Linked DNA regions of Homo sapiens: all the other regions are linked to region 2. Evidence: promoter capture Hi-C in human tissues and cell types (Jung and others, 2019). All regions are on one chromosome and are shown on one strand. The core of a region is centred on a gene start or on the middle of the fragment in contact, and the rest is flanking DNA. Distances in the headings are between cores, read along the strand shown. Region 1 overlaps TNFRSF10B (TNF receptor superfamily member 10b). Region 2 holds the start of EGR3 (early growth response 3). Region 3 has its middle 9.2 kb from the start of TNFRSF10B.

Region 1 (4,448 bases), core at 436-2,935, 360 kb before region 2:
GTCTCAAACTCCTGCCCTCAAATGATCGCCCGCCTCGGCCTCCCAAAATGCTGGGATTACAGGCGTGAGCCACACTTAACTTCACATTTCATAATTCCTGAGTCTTATCAGGCAAAAACAAGTCCTGAAAAAACAAAGTAAATCTACTTATTATAGTAGGGCAGATAATACAAAGTTGGGCATTAAGGTAATATCGTATTTATAGTTTTAAAGCTGATGACTCTATAAGGACAGTATGTGCTTCAGTGAAATTATAAACATGAAAACTCTGCTTTCAGTTCTTTTGGATACATACCCAGAAGTGGGATTGCTGGATCATCTGGTAATTCTACTTTTAATTTTTTGAGGAACAACCATACTGTTCCTGGACCAAACTGAGGGTCGGGCTGCTATTTCTTGCCACCCATTAATGAGATGCCAATGAACTGGGAAGAAAGAGTTTTTATTTCTGTAGCTGGTTACAGGGAGAAGGCCTGGAAATTATCGCCAGACCAACTCAAAATTACAAAGTGTTTCAGAGCTTATATCCTTTCTAACCTATATGTCTACATGTAAGTGTGCATTCATCTAAAGACATAAGTGATTAACTTCTTTTAATCTATAACTAAGGTCTGAGTCCTGAAGACCTTCCTGTGGAGCCTCAGTAAATTTACTTAATCTAAATGGGTCCAGGTGCTGGGGTGATTACCCTGCTAAACCATGGAGGTTTGGGGAGTTCCTTCAAACCTCCAATACCCTTGTTTGTGGAGGCCTGGGGAGTTTCTTCAAAACCCCCAATAAAACTTGTTTAATCCTAAATGGGTCCTGTTATGAATTCCTCCATTATTTTGTCATGCTTTAAGGCCCAGGAAAGGCCTAAGCAAAACTCTTGATGGGCTTTTGTTACATTCCAGCCTTTGTATAAGGGCACTGGCTTTTTTTTTTTTTTTTTTAAGCATTTAATAGTTAACTTAAGCACTTGATTAGTACTGAAACAGTTGTGATGGAGGCCTGCATTAGTGAAACCTGGCCTGCTACAATCCCCACTGTCAATTTGCGCATGATTTCTATCATGCTTGTGTATTTATTTATCATGAGAATCGTAGGGAGATGGGGTGTCATAATCTTTCTGGCTACTTTCAGCTGAGAGAGGGTCATTGTTATGGGGCACCAAATGCAGTACTGGAGTGGAGGAGGTTGATTTGTTCCCGGTAGCACTGTCTATTTTAGGGGCTTAGAGAGAGTGCCTGCTGAAACACCTAGTTTTCAGTTCACAGGGCTTTAAGAAAGCAAAGCTTAGGTTTCAGTGATTTCCAGTTAGGGAAAATGGAGAAAAAGGAAAAGAAAAAGGAAAAAATTGAAAACATTTTGAGACTTGCAGCCAGAAAAATTAGAATTTAATCCAAACTGTAGAAAATAATAAAAACTGAAAAACATCGAGGAAGACTAGAATTTAACAGGTGTAACTATAATTTTTGAAACATAATTTTTCTCTCTTGTTTCCCATTTTTATTAAAAGACAAATCATGGTAGGACTGGTTTGCTTTATTATACTTGGCCTAATTACTTATATACCGTGCAGCAAGAATAATTATTTTTTACATAGGCGTTTTAAATGGGCTTTGATGGAACTTTGTTCCATAGCAGGAATCTGAGATAAGACCTTTTTAAAGCCGAGCCCAACCATGGATTTATACCATCAAATACCTATGAGTTGGGTGAATTCCTCTCTTCTTGAGGTTCCAAGATAACTTGGGGTTCCTGGCCTGTCAGAAAGTGACATTCTTTACTTACCACAGGTCAGAAACCCTGTACAGGGTCTATGTACACAAATTATGAGGCCAGTTTCCAAGGGCTTTCTTGGCTTCCTAAGTCAAGTTTGATTCCTTAAAGGAGAGCAAAGTCAAAGCCTTGGTAAAATAACCAGTTTTTCCAATTGTGTCCTGTTACAAAAGAAAACAGATTCTTACTGCACTTATGCAAATAACTATATTGCCATAACTTAAGAATACTCACAGTTTCGAAATTCTGGAGAAAATCAGGTAGAGAGAAACAAATATGCTCCAAATTTTGTTCATAGGAGTATACTGTACTTAAATGTTAAAAGGTGTTAATAGCTCAAAAGAAAAGTTTCCTTGCCTCTGAAAAGCAAAACAAAGGATTAGCAACATTTTAAGCCGAAAGTCAAAAAGATCACTTCAGTCTCCTATTAGTTCAGTTCATGCAGTTAATTCCTGTCCTGTTTGATATTAATGAACATTTTAACTCTTCAAGAGTCATCAACGTTTTTCCTCTATTTTGATGTCACAATCTCCAAAGTTATCAGAAACCTGCATTCAAGAGCACCTGTTAGAGCTTTACAGCTGATTATAAAACCACCTTCTAAAGAGGACCAAAACAAGACAGACAACAATTATTTATGGAGGACAAAAGGTTTTAGGGTAGCCATAGTTAAAGACACAATTGATGACAAGGGTATCTGTTACCTCTGTGGCACACAATAATTTTAACATAACAATTATAATTATTAATGATAACATACACTAAGATATATCAGAATTATAGGAGTCTTCCATAACTTTGGAACACATACCAATAATATATTTATGCACATACAGCCCAAAGAAAGCCAAACACCATTTCATGTTTGACAATGCTTCCTGTATAATTTTATATCAAATAAGCCACATTTCACCTTTACATTAGTGTACTATTAATGTTAAATCCAATTTTTAATAAAACCTTATAGACACATTTACCCAATTTTAATGTTTGACCATAAAGTAAGAGTTTTATAGACCTTTCATAACTCTTTACAATTTTTGTTAAACAGAAGGTTAGTGCTCTAAGAGAAACCCATTGTGCTTTTATTTTAATGCTCAATTTACAGAAAAACTGGATGATATCCCTTTAATTTTAGCCAATACATTTACACACAGAATTGTCTTTACAATTACCCTTCCACAGCTTGCTTAAACTTTCATTTTTATTTTATCCAACTTAAAACAATCCTTTAACCTTTTAATCTAGTAAAAAATATCCACATTCTCATGCCTCCTTATAATCTTTTTACCAAAAGTATATTTTACTTTCCTTACACAACTTGCATGTAAACTGTTTTTTCAATAGTCTTAAATACACATTACATTGTTAATTCTTAGCAACCTTTTCTTTTGGTGAAAACCTTGGTAAATTTGGGATTTTAATTATATACTAGGTATGGAGCCTACGACCTAGACAGAAATGCAGGTAAGGTCTGACTTATTCTAGCATCTAGCTCCATGTGTCCTAGGCCTTACCTAGCTGCAAAGCAGGCAAGTTGTACAGCTAAGAGTCATAGTGGCATTTTATAAAGCATTTAGGAGGCCTAATCACCTTTAAATTGTACAACATTTCTTGCATAAATTTCCTTTCATAAATTCTTTCACAACTTACACAGACAATCTCTGACATGCCTTGACTTTCTGACTTGTTCTAAACATCCCTCTCTTTAAACAACCAGTTAATTTACTTTAGGACAAGAATTTACCATACAGGAGCCCTTCTTGTATAAATTCTCTTTTCTTTAAAACTTTTTGCATAGCTAGGGGACATGGCTAATTTCACATGTCCCCAGGCCGTATCTAGAATTTAACAGTCCAAAATAAATTGAACACTTTTTAAGTCAAAGAAGCATTTTATGACCTAAAGCATTTAGCAAACCTAGTATTTGACCTGCATAATTTAGACCAACTATTTACATTTTTGAAGATACTTTTACCAATAATCTTTAAAATTCTCCTTATTTTTATAACTTTCTGTATATCTCTCTTATTTCCTGGTTTCTTTTACCTTGTTTTATATATAACCTTTAAATAAGCTTTGAATAAGACAACAATTAGTTACCCTTGGCCAGGCGTGGTGGCTCACGCGTGTAATCCCAGCACTTTGGGAGGCTGAGGCGGGCGGATCACAAGGTCAGGAGATCAAGACCATCCTGGCTGACACGGTGAAACCCCGTCTCTACTAAAAAGTACAAAAAATTAGCCAGGCGTGGTGGTGGGCACCTGTAGTCCCACCTACTCGGGAGGCTGAGGCAGGAGAATGGTGTGAACCTGGGAGGTGGAGCTTGCAGTGAGCAGTAATTGTGCCACTGCACTCCAGCCTGGGTGACAGAGCAAGACTCTGTCTCAAAAAAAAAAAAAAAAAAGTTACCCTTTAAAAAGGACACAATCTTTAGAAAGAATGTTTTCCTACGATATATTTTTATTAGAAAATACCCAAATAATTAGATATCTGTTGTTTAATATAACTTTAGATTCTAAATTATGACAAGTTTACTTATGAGTATGTATCCCATTACATTTATCTAATTATTTATTTTAATCATTTACCCAGATTATATATGAAAACTGCGATAGTTGTCATTAAAGTTAGGAAACCACCATTGCAAAATTATGACCGAGACAGTGAAAATGATCTGACCTAAC
Region 2 (4,303 bases), core at 1,500-3,999:
CCAGACTCCTATCCAATCTTGCTGACGGGTAAGCAAGCCCTGGTGCAGGTCAGCAAACCTTGCCCCATGCTCTTCTACTTGGAAGCAACAAGTCCAGCGTGCCGAAAAGTGTTGGGAGAGAGGCCGTCTCCTCCAGTTGGGAGTGGCTGCACTCCACAGCCTCTGGGGCCCTGGAAGCTTAAGGATCCCAAATGCTTCCACTGCCTCTGCCTTTCCCAACTCAGGCCCCAGTCGAACAGGATAAGGGCTTCTAGCTCCTCACTCTGCAGCCCCTCCTGGGGAGAGATCCTGACAGGTGGAAAGTGGGTGCATCACGGTGGGGTCCTCCGGAGTTGAGCTGGGCGGCCCGGAGGCCTCTCACTTCCTTCCCACCACCCCCGCAGGCTGAGCTCTGCCTCGCGCGGGGAGACATGGGCACTGCAGCCTTCGGGCCTGCAGCTCGCCCAGGACCGCGGACCCCACAGCGTCTCCCGGCCCCAGGCAGGAACCCGTGGAGACCCTCCGCAGCCTCCGGGTGCACGCGCAGCAGGAAGCACTCTGGAGGGGCCAGGTCTGGGACTGGCGCGCCCGAAGCTCGCTGGTTGCCGCCCCTCCCTGGCCCTCCCTGCTGCCGGGCTCTACGGCCAGAGGCCAGAGCCGCTGGCTAATTTTTCAGGCCCCCACCCCCACCCCCACCGCCTCCCTGGGTGACGCTACAGCCTGTGCGGTTCCTTTAAAGGCTGCGGGTTCCGTTCTTCTTTCCTTTTCCACTGGATGCCAAAATATGCAAATCTTGGGACCGGAATCTGCAGCCAAATCGAGAAGGAGAAGGGGCGCGGCCGGCGCGTCACCGGATCCGCTCCTTGTATGGCTCTTCCCGGCTTGGCCCGCCGCCCTGCGACCCTCCCCGCAGCCGCCCGGGCCCCTCCCGCACCTAGCCCGGCTCACACCGCCGCCCACGCCCCCCGACCGGCCGCGCGCCCCCCCTAAGGGAGGGAGCCGGGGGCGGGAGGCGCAGCCTGCCCTGATTCTGACCGGAGCGCGGGACCGCTGCAGCGCTCTCCCTCCCTGAGCCGCGCTGGCGGAGGACAGCCCGGGGGGCGCTGTGGCTCCCTAGTATAGGAGTGGGGAGCCTGGCGGGAGAGGCGGCGGGGGTGGAGAGAGGGGGCTCGCGGGAGGCGGGAATCCCTCCTTTCCTAAGAACTGGAGAAGATGGGGGGAGGCCGGGCCCTCCGGTCCCCAGCCCTCCACTGAGTGGAGGGGAGGGGAGGGGAGCGAGGTTGTCATCCACCTCCACCACAACGTGCAGCTCGGGAGTTCCTCCCACACGTCCCCGGCCCGCGTGGCCCTCCCACGGCGTGAGGCCCGGGGATCCTCTCTTCTTCCTTGTCAACACTCCCACTCCCCCCGAGAAATGCACGTTCCCCCAACCCCGACTCCCCAGGAGGGGACGAGGGATTCACCGCGCCCACGCGGCCACCGAGGAGGGAATCCTCCCCCGCCAAGCCGATGTGATTTGGGGTCGCACCCCCATGCTCCCGCCCTCTCCTCCCCCTCGCCCGCGGGCCGGCTGCGCGCGCCTCGGGAGCAGGCCCCAGGGAGCACAGCAGCCGCCCCCGGGATCTGCTGCCGCTCCGGGAGGTGAAAGCGCTCCGGGTCGGCACACAGGCCGCCCTTGACTGCGGAGCGCCGGCAGGCAGCAATGGGGACAGCCCTGTGGAAGGCGAGGGGGAGGGCAGAGACTAGGGGAGGCCCCCAGTGGCTCAGAGACTGTGGGTTCGGCGTCCTCCTTCTGGAACTCTGGCGGGCCCTTCGCAGGCAGCAGTAGACAGCGACTGCGCCCGGGCCTGCTGGGCCCTCCTGCCATCCTGTGGCCACAGAGGCTGCTTGGAACCGTTAGGGAATTTACTGGGGATTCAGTGCACGTGTTTATCTATCCCTTCAACTTCATTCTTTCCTCTTCACCACGAAAACCGCACATCCTCGACCCCATATGGATGGGGCTCTTGTCTTTGGCGCAACTGCTGGGGTGCTCCGAATCTCCTCGCCACTGCGCTCAGCCTAGAGTCAGCGCCGGGTCAGGGGCCCAGGGAGGGGCAGGGGCGGCGAATCAGAGTGAAGTTGGCACAAAAGTTCTTGGGATATTGGACCAAGGAATTCTGACAAGTTGAAACACCCCCCCAACCCTGCGCGCACCCCTCCTTCCCCCCACAAAGGGAAGCACTCCCTTTCTCTTAATCTCGGATAGGATCCCGAACGCTGGAGCCGCTGAGGTAGCAGGGGCGCAACGCACGCCTTCCGGGTTCCCCAGCAGTTCCCGGGCTGCAAAGGGATTTCGCCAGATGTTTTCAACTCTCTTTCTAACTGCTGGGGTGTTGGAGACCACTTGCAAACAACCCCACCCCACCGCCCACCTCTCCCCAATGCGCTCTCCTAACGCAAACCTCAAATAAACACACACAATGAGTTACTGGTGTTTCGACTCCACGCTACGCGCTTTGCGCTTTGCATGCAGCTGTATCCTTCTTTCCTCTCTCTTCTCGCATTCTTCTTGTTTCTTCTCCCCTTCTCTTTTTTTCAAGAGCCGCGAGCGGTGCGGGCGCCGCACGTTGGCTGCGGCCCGCTTCCTGCTTTCTAATGTTCCATTGTGAGGAGCTTCCATTGTGACGTCGCGCCCCTTCGGCTGGGCTTTGTCTGTCCATATATGGGCAGCTACGTCACGGAGCTTTCCCGGGGCTCAGATAAATAGGCTGGTGGAGTTCCCTGGCTGGGAGCTTTTGGGCAGCAGTGAGCTTGCTAGGAAGCGGCGGGGCTGGTGGTGGTGGTAGCAGCGGCGGCAGCGGCGGCAGAGGCGGCGGCGGCGGCGGCGGCGGCGGCGGCGGTGGCGGTGGCGGTGGCGGTGGCAGATCGGGGGGCGGGGGGGCGGCGGGCGCGTGTCTGTTTGTGAGATCAATACTGAGGCCGCGTCCGACCCCCTTGAGCCGAGATCCCCCCCCAGCCCAGCCCCCACCCCACCCCCCGCACACGCCCCACCCCCCCCACGACCCAGCCTCATACCGCACCAGCTGAGGCACCCAAGAGGATTACCCCCTGGGGCCCTCTCCCGCCCCCCAAAAAAGAGAAGATCCCCTCTCCTGGCCCATCCCTTCCCTTCTTCCCTCCCCCCTCCCCCCGAACTTTCCCTCTCGCATGCTTTTCCCCTGCACCACGGATCGCCTCTCGGATGCCGCTTGCCTGGAAGCTGCGTTAGGAGCGAGCGGCGGCGGTGGCGGCGGTGGCGGCGGCGGCGGCAGCTCGGGAGTGCTATGACCGGCAAACTCGCCGAGAAGCTGCCGGTGACCATGAGCAGTTTGCTAAACCAACTGCCTGACAATCTGTACCCCGAGGAGATCCCCAGCGCGCTCAACCTCTTCTCCGGCAGCAGCGACTCGGTAGTCCATTACAATCAGATGGCTACAGGTAAGGGCGGCGGGGAGGCGGCGAGGCAGCGAGGAAGGAAGGGGAGAGGAAGAGGAGGAGGGGACGACCTGGTGATGGATGGATGGATGGATGGATGGATGGATGGATGGATGGGTGGATGGGTGGATAGATAAATGGATGGAGAGATGGGGGCGCGCTGGGAATTTTGCGGGGGGCGAGTTGCTTTTCCCACCCACTCCTCCCGCCCTCCTCGATCGAGAAGGCTAGGTTGGCGACGCCACGGTAGAGGCTTCGGTTCTCCCGGGTGGGGGCAGCCGCCGACCGGAGGGAGGTAGGTGCGAGCGGCTCTGGGGTTCTCCCTCACCACGCAGGGGGCCCGATCGCCGGGCTACGCGCAAGGCGTGGTGCTGTCGCCCTCTTCCCGGGAGGAGCCCGGCGTCTTTTTCACCCGCGCTCTCCCCCCTTACTCCCTCAGCCTCCCACCCGGGATGGAGCCATGTGCGGCGTGGAGTCCCCGCGGTGGGAGAGGTACTGCGACGCTGCCTTTCCGGGGCGTTCAGCAAAGCCGTGGGGGTGTGGGGACGGCGGGGAGAAGGAGGGGGTTCACCCGCGGGGCGAGGGCCTGCCACGGGGAACGATCCCGGGGCCGGGGAGCTGGGGAAGGGCGGCCTCTCCCGCCATGGAGACACCGGCCGGTTTTCCGCCGCTCTCCACCCTCCCTAGCTGGGGCTAGGATTTTCCCCTCCAGCAAGAGCCTAAAGCTCCTTCATGCCCGAGGAGGCTGGGGCCGGGGTAGGTGAAGGGAGAGCTCCCTTTGAGGGCGACACCCTTCTACGCTCCGAGGACAAAGCGTCGGAGCGCTCTGGGTCGGCGACCCGGGAGCAGCGCGCGTGGGGGGCATCGC
Region 3 (3,848 bases), core at 335-2,834, 390 kb before region 2:
ATTCAATGTCACTTAAAAACCCTAAGAATGGGGCCGACCAGGCACAGTGGCTCACGCCTGTAATCCCAGCACTTTGGGAGGCCGAAGCAGGTGGATCACGAGGTCAGGAGATTGAGACCATCCTTGCTAACACGGTGAAACCCCGTCTCTACTAAAAATACAAAAAAAAAAAAAAAAAACTAGCCAGGCATGGTGGCACATGCCTGTAGTCCCAGTTACTCGGGAGGCTGAGGCAGGAGAATCGCTTGAACTCAGGAGGCGGAGGTTGCAGTGAGCCGAGATTGCACCACTGCACTCCAGCCTGGGCGACACAGCCAGACTCTGTCAAAAACAAACAAACAGAAACAAACAACCCTAAGAATGAAACTATGATATGGAAATATAAATGTATGTCTGAAGGAATGTTAAAAACATAGTAGATGCAATAAATTAGCAAACAGAATTACAAGGCTATGCAACTTATAACGATTACAAAATACCAAACAGCCATGAAAAGAAATAGGAATAAATTTATCTGAAGAGGAAAACAAATCACAACTCAGTTATAATAAAATACTTGACTTCAAAATGGATAAGGAAATACTGAATATTGATAAGATATTAAGTATTTCTAGATTAATTTTTAGTTTTAAGATAAATTGATAAAAATGCCACTGATTTTCTTTGGAAGGGGAGAATGGAAGAAATCTTACAATTATAAGCTTTATCTGGGTAAAATAATAAATTTTGAAAAAGTACGGAAGAGGTGTTTGCTCTCTTGGATATTAAAACACATTAGAAAGTTCCCATTGGAACATGCCTTAAAATAATAAGAGCCATCTATGACAAATCCATAGCCAACATCATACTGAATGGGCAAAAGTTGGAAGCATTTCCCTTGAGAACTGGAACAAGACAAGGATGCTCATGCTCACCACTCCCATTCAACATAGTACCAGAAGTCCTAGCCAGAGCACTCAGGCAAGAGAAAGAAATAAAAGGCATCCAGATATGAAATGAAGAAGTCAAAGATATATCTTAATGGACAATATAATTCTGTACCTTGAAAACCGTAAAGACTCCACAAAAAGGCTACTGGAACTGACAACAACTTCAGCAAAATTTCAGGATACAAAATCATTGTATAAAAATTGGTAGCATATCTATATACCAATAACATTCAGGCTGAGAACCAGGCCAGGCGTGGTGGCTCATGCCTGTAATCCCAGCACTTTGGGAGGCTGAGGCGGGCAGATCACGAGGTGAGGAGATGGAGACCATCCTGGCTAACACGGTGAAACCCCGTCTCTACTAAAAATAAAATAAAATAAATAAATAAATGTCAATTAAATCAAGGTGGTTGATAGTTTGCAGATTGCTTGCCACTTTGCTAGTGTTTTCATTTGATTGTTCTATCAATTGCAGAGAAAGAGCTGATTTAATCTCATTTTCATTCCATTTTTGCTTCAAGTGTTTTTAAGCTGTATTACTAGGCATATACAATTTGTGATTATTATACTCCCTGATGAATTAACCTTTTTAACTGCAAAGGTTCTTTTTGATCTCCCATAATATTCTATGTCCTAAAATTGTTACCCTGTGTAGCTAGTCAGGTATGAGCTGGGCAGGAGAGGGCTCCCCACCGCTTCTTACACTAGGAGGGTTGAGCGAACATCAGGTGATGGTTAGGTGGTTTTTAACTGTTTCTCTAAAGTAATAACTGGTTACAGCCGATGCCAGAAAAAGGCAGTCTCCTAATACATAGAAAACAACTGAAACTGATCAGCAACTTCCTAACAAGATTTCAGGAGTGGGGAGAAGCAAGGCAAAATCCTGGAAGTATGCCTACCTATAAATCCCCAAGTCACAAGTTCAGGCTGCACACTTGGCTTCTCAAGTCACCTGCTTGGCCATCTTCTAAGTTGTACTTTCCTTCTTTTCTTTCCTTTCCTTCCTGTTCTAAAGCTTTTTAATAAACTCACTATTGCTCTAAAACTTGCCTCCATCTCTCCTTCTGCCTTATGACCCTCAGTCGAATTCTTTCTTATCAGGAGGTGAAGAGCTGAAGTTGCTGTGGGCCCGTATGGATTCGCTGCCATCAACGTAGGGTAACTCGGATCTTGTCCACTGCTAGCAAAATCAACTACGTCTGATACTGAGATAGCCACGGCAGTTTTCTTGGCCTTAGGATTTGCATGATGTATCTTTTCCCATCCACTTACTTTCAACAGACAGTATCTGTGTCTTCCTTTTAAGTCCCATCTCGTATAGACAAGATCTAGTTGAGTCTTGCTTTCTCAGCCCTTCCAACCATTTCTACCTTTGAACGGTAGTGCCCAGTGGATTTACAGTTAGTGCAATAATTGATACAGTTGAAATAGACCTGTAAGTTTACCATTTAAGCAATGATTGTCCAGTCTAATTTTTTTGCTCCTTTTTCCCCTGCACATTTTAATGTTAGTTACCTTTTAGGATTCCATTTTAATTGGATACTGCCTTTCCTTTCTTTTTTTTTTTTTTTTTTTTTTTTTTTTTTTGAGAAGGAGTCTCTCTCTGTTGCCCAGGCTGGAGTGCAGTGGCGCGATCTCGGCTCACTGCAAGCTCCGCCTCCCAAGTTCACGCCATTCTCCTGCCTCAGCCTCCCCAGCAGCTGGAAATACAATTGCCCGCCACCAGCCTGGCTAATTTTTTGTATTTTTAGTAGAGATGGGGTTTCACCGTGTTAGCCAGGATGGTCTCGATCTCCTGACCTCGTGATCTGCCCTCCTCAGCCTCCCAAAGTGCTGGGATTACAGGCGTGAGCCACCGCAACCGGCTTATTTTATTTTATTTTATTTTCTTGAGACGGAGTCTCGCTCTGTTACCAGGCTGGAGTGCAGTAGCATGATCTCGGCTCACTGCAACCGCCGCCTCCAGGGTTCAAGTGATTCTCCTACCTCAGCCTCCCAAGTAGCTGGGACTACAGGCTTGTGCCACCACACCCAGCTAATTTTTTGTATTTTTAGTAGATGGGGTTTCACCATGTTGGCCAGGATAGTCTTGATCTCTTGACCTCGTGATCCACCCACCTCAGCCTTCTAAAGTGCTGGGATTACAGGCGTGAGTTACTGCACCCAACTGGATACTGACTTTTAATGTATACATATTTCCTGATCTATGTGCAAGTGCTATAGGGAATACAGTATACACTCAAGTGTTTGTATTCTATTTGAAGTTTTTTAAAAAATGAATTTATTGGCTGGGCTCGGTGGCTCATGCCTGTAATCCCAGCACTTTGGGAGGCTGAGGCGGGCAGATCACGAGGTCAGGAGATCCAGACCATCCTGGCTAACCTGATGAAACCCCGTCTCTACTAAAAATACAAAAAAAAAAAAAATGCCGGGCATGGTGGCGGGCGCCTGTAGTCCAGCTACTCAGGAGGGTGAGGCAGGAAAATGGCATGAACCCAGGAGGCGGAGCTTGCAGTGAGCCGAGATCGCGCCACTGCACTCCAGCCTGGGCGACAGAGTGAGACTCCATCTCAAACAAAAAAAAAAAAAAAGAATTTATTGAGGTATAATGAATATAAAACAAAGTGTACATTTTTAAAATGTGTAGTTTGGTAGATTGAGATGTATGTATACACTACGAAACTATCACCACAATAAGATAATGACATGTCTACCACCCCCCAGAATGTGTTCATTCTTCAGTGTAATCCTCTCTTCTGCTTTGCTCCTATGTCCCCAGCAATGATTCTTCTGCTTTTTGTCACAATAGATTAGATTAGTTGCATTTTAATAAGAAGTGGAATCAGACGGTATGCATTCTGCTTGGATTCCTTCACATGACATGATCATTTTGAAAACCATCCCTGTGGCCATGTGCAG

What was found. Contacts are between HindIII fragments. The study calls those that stand out against the background at their distance.
Region 1: a contact is called between a fragment that was not itself captured here and the fragment with the promoter of EGR3 in region 2, in 1 of the 25 tissues and cell types used here (hippocampus).
Region 3: a contact is called between a fragment that was not itself captured here and the fragment with the promoter of EGR3 in region 2, in 1 of the 25 tissues and cell types used here (pancreas).

Annotation. Positions count from the first base shown.
Region 1 is chr8:23,052,006-23,056,453 of GRCh38, reverse strand. The region is part of intron 1 of TNFRSF10B (TNF receptor superfamily member 10b); the gene reads left to right. Among named protein-coding and RNA genes, the nearest start is that of TNFRSF10B, 15 kb to the left of the region's middle. The HindIII fragment of the contact is 7,269 bases long and covers 1-4,448 here.
Region 2 is chr8:22,691,926-22,696,228 of GRCh38, reverse strand. EGR3 (early growth response 3) reads left to right here and starts at 2,749. Exons shown (of 2, transcript NM_004430.3): 1 at 2,749-3,438. The coding sequence starts at 3,285. It overlaps LOC105379321 (a long non-coding RNA gene), which reads right to left and starts at 1,372. Exons shown (of 3, transcript XR_001745832.2): 1 at 1,015-1,372; 2 at 697-785; 3 at 1-288. RefSeq lists silencers at 438-677, 1,458-1,677, 2,560-2,723, 2,668-2,787, 3,650-3,719 and 2 more and enhancers at 1,788-1,887, 1,928-2,037, 1,870-2,515. The HindIII fragment of the contact is 10,174 bases long and covers 1-4,303 here.
Region 3 is chr8:23,076,322-23,080,169 of GRCh38, reverse strand. It overlaps the pseudogene TNFRSF10B-AS1. Among named protein-coding and RNA genes, the nearest start is that of TNFRSF10B, 9.2 kb to the right of the region's middle. The HindIII fragment of the contact is 5,632 bases long and covers 1-3,848 here.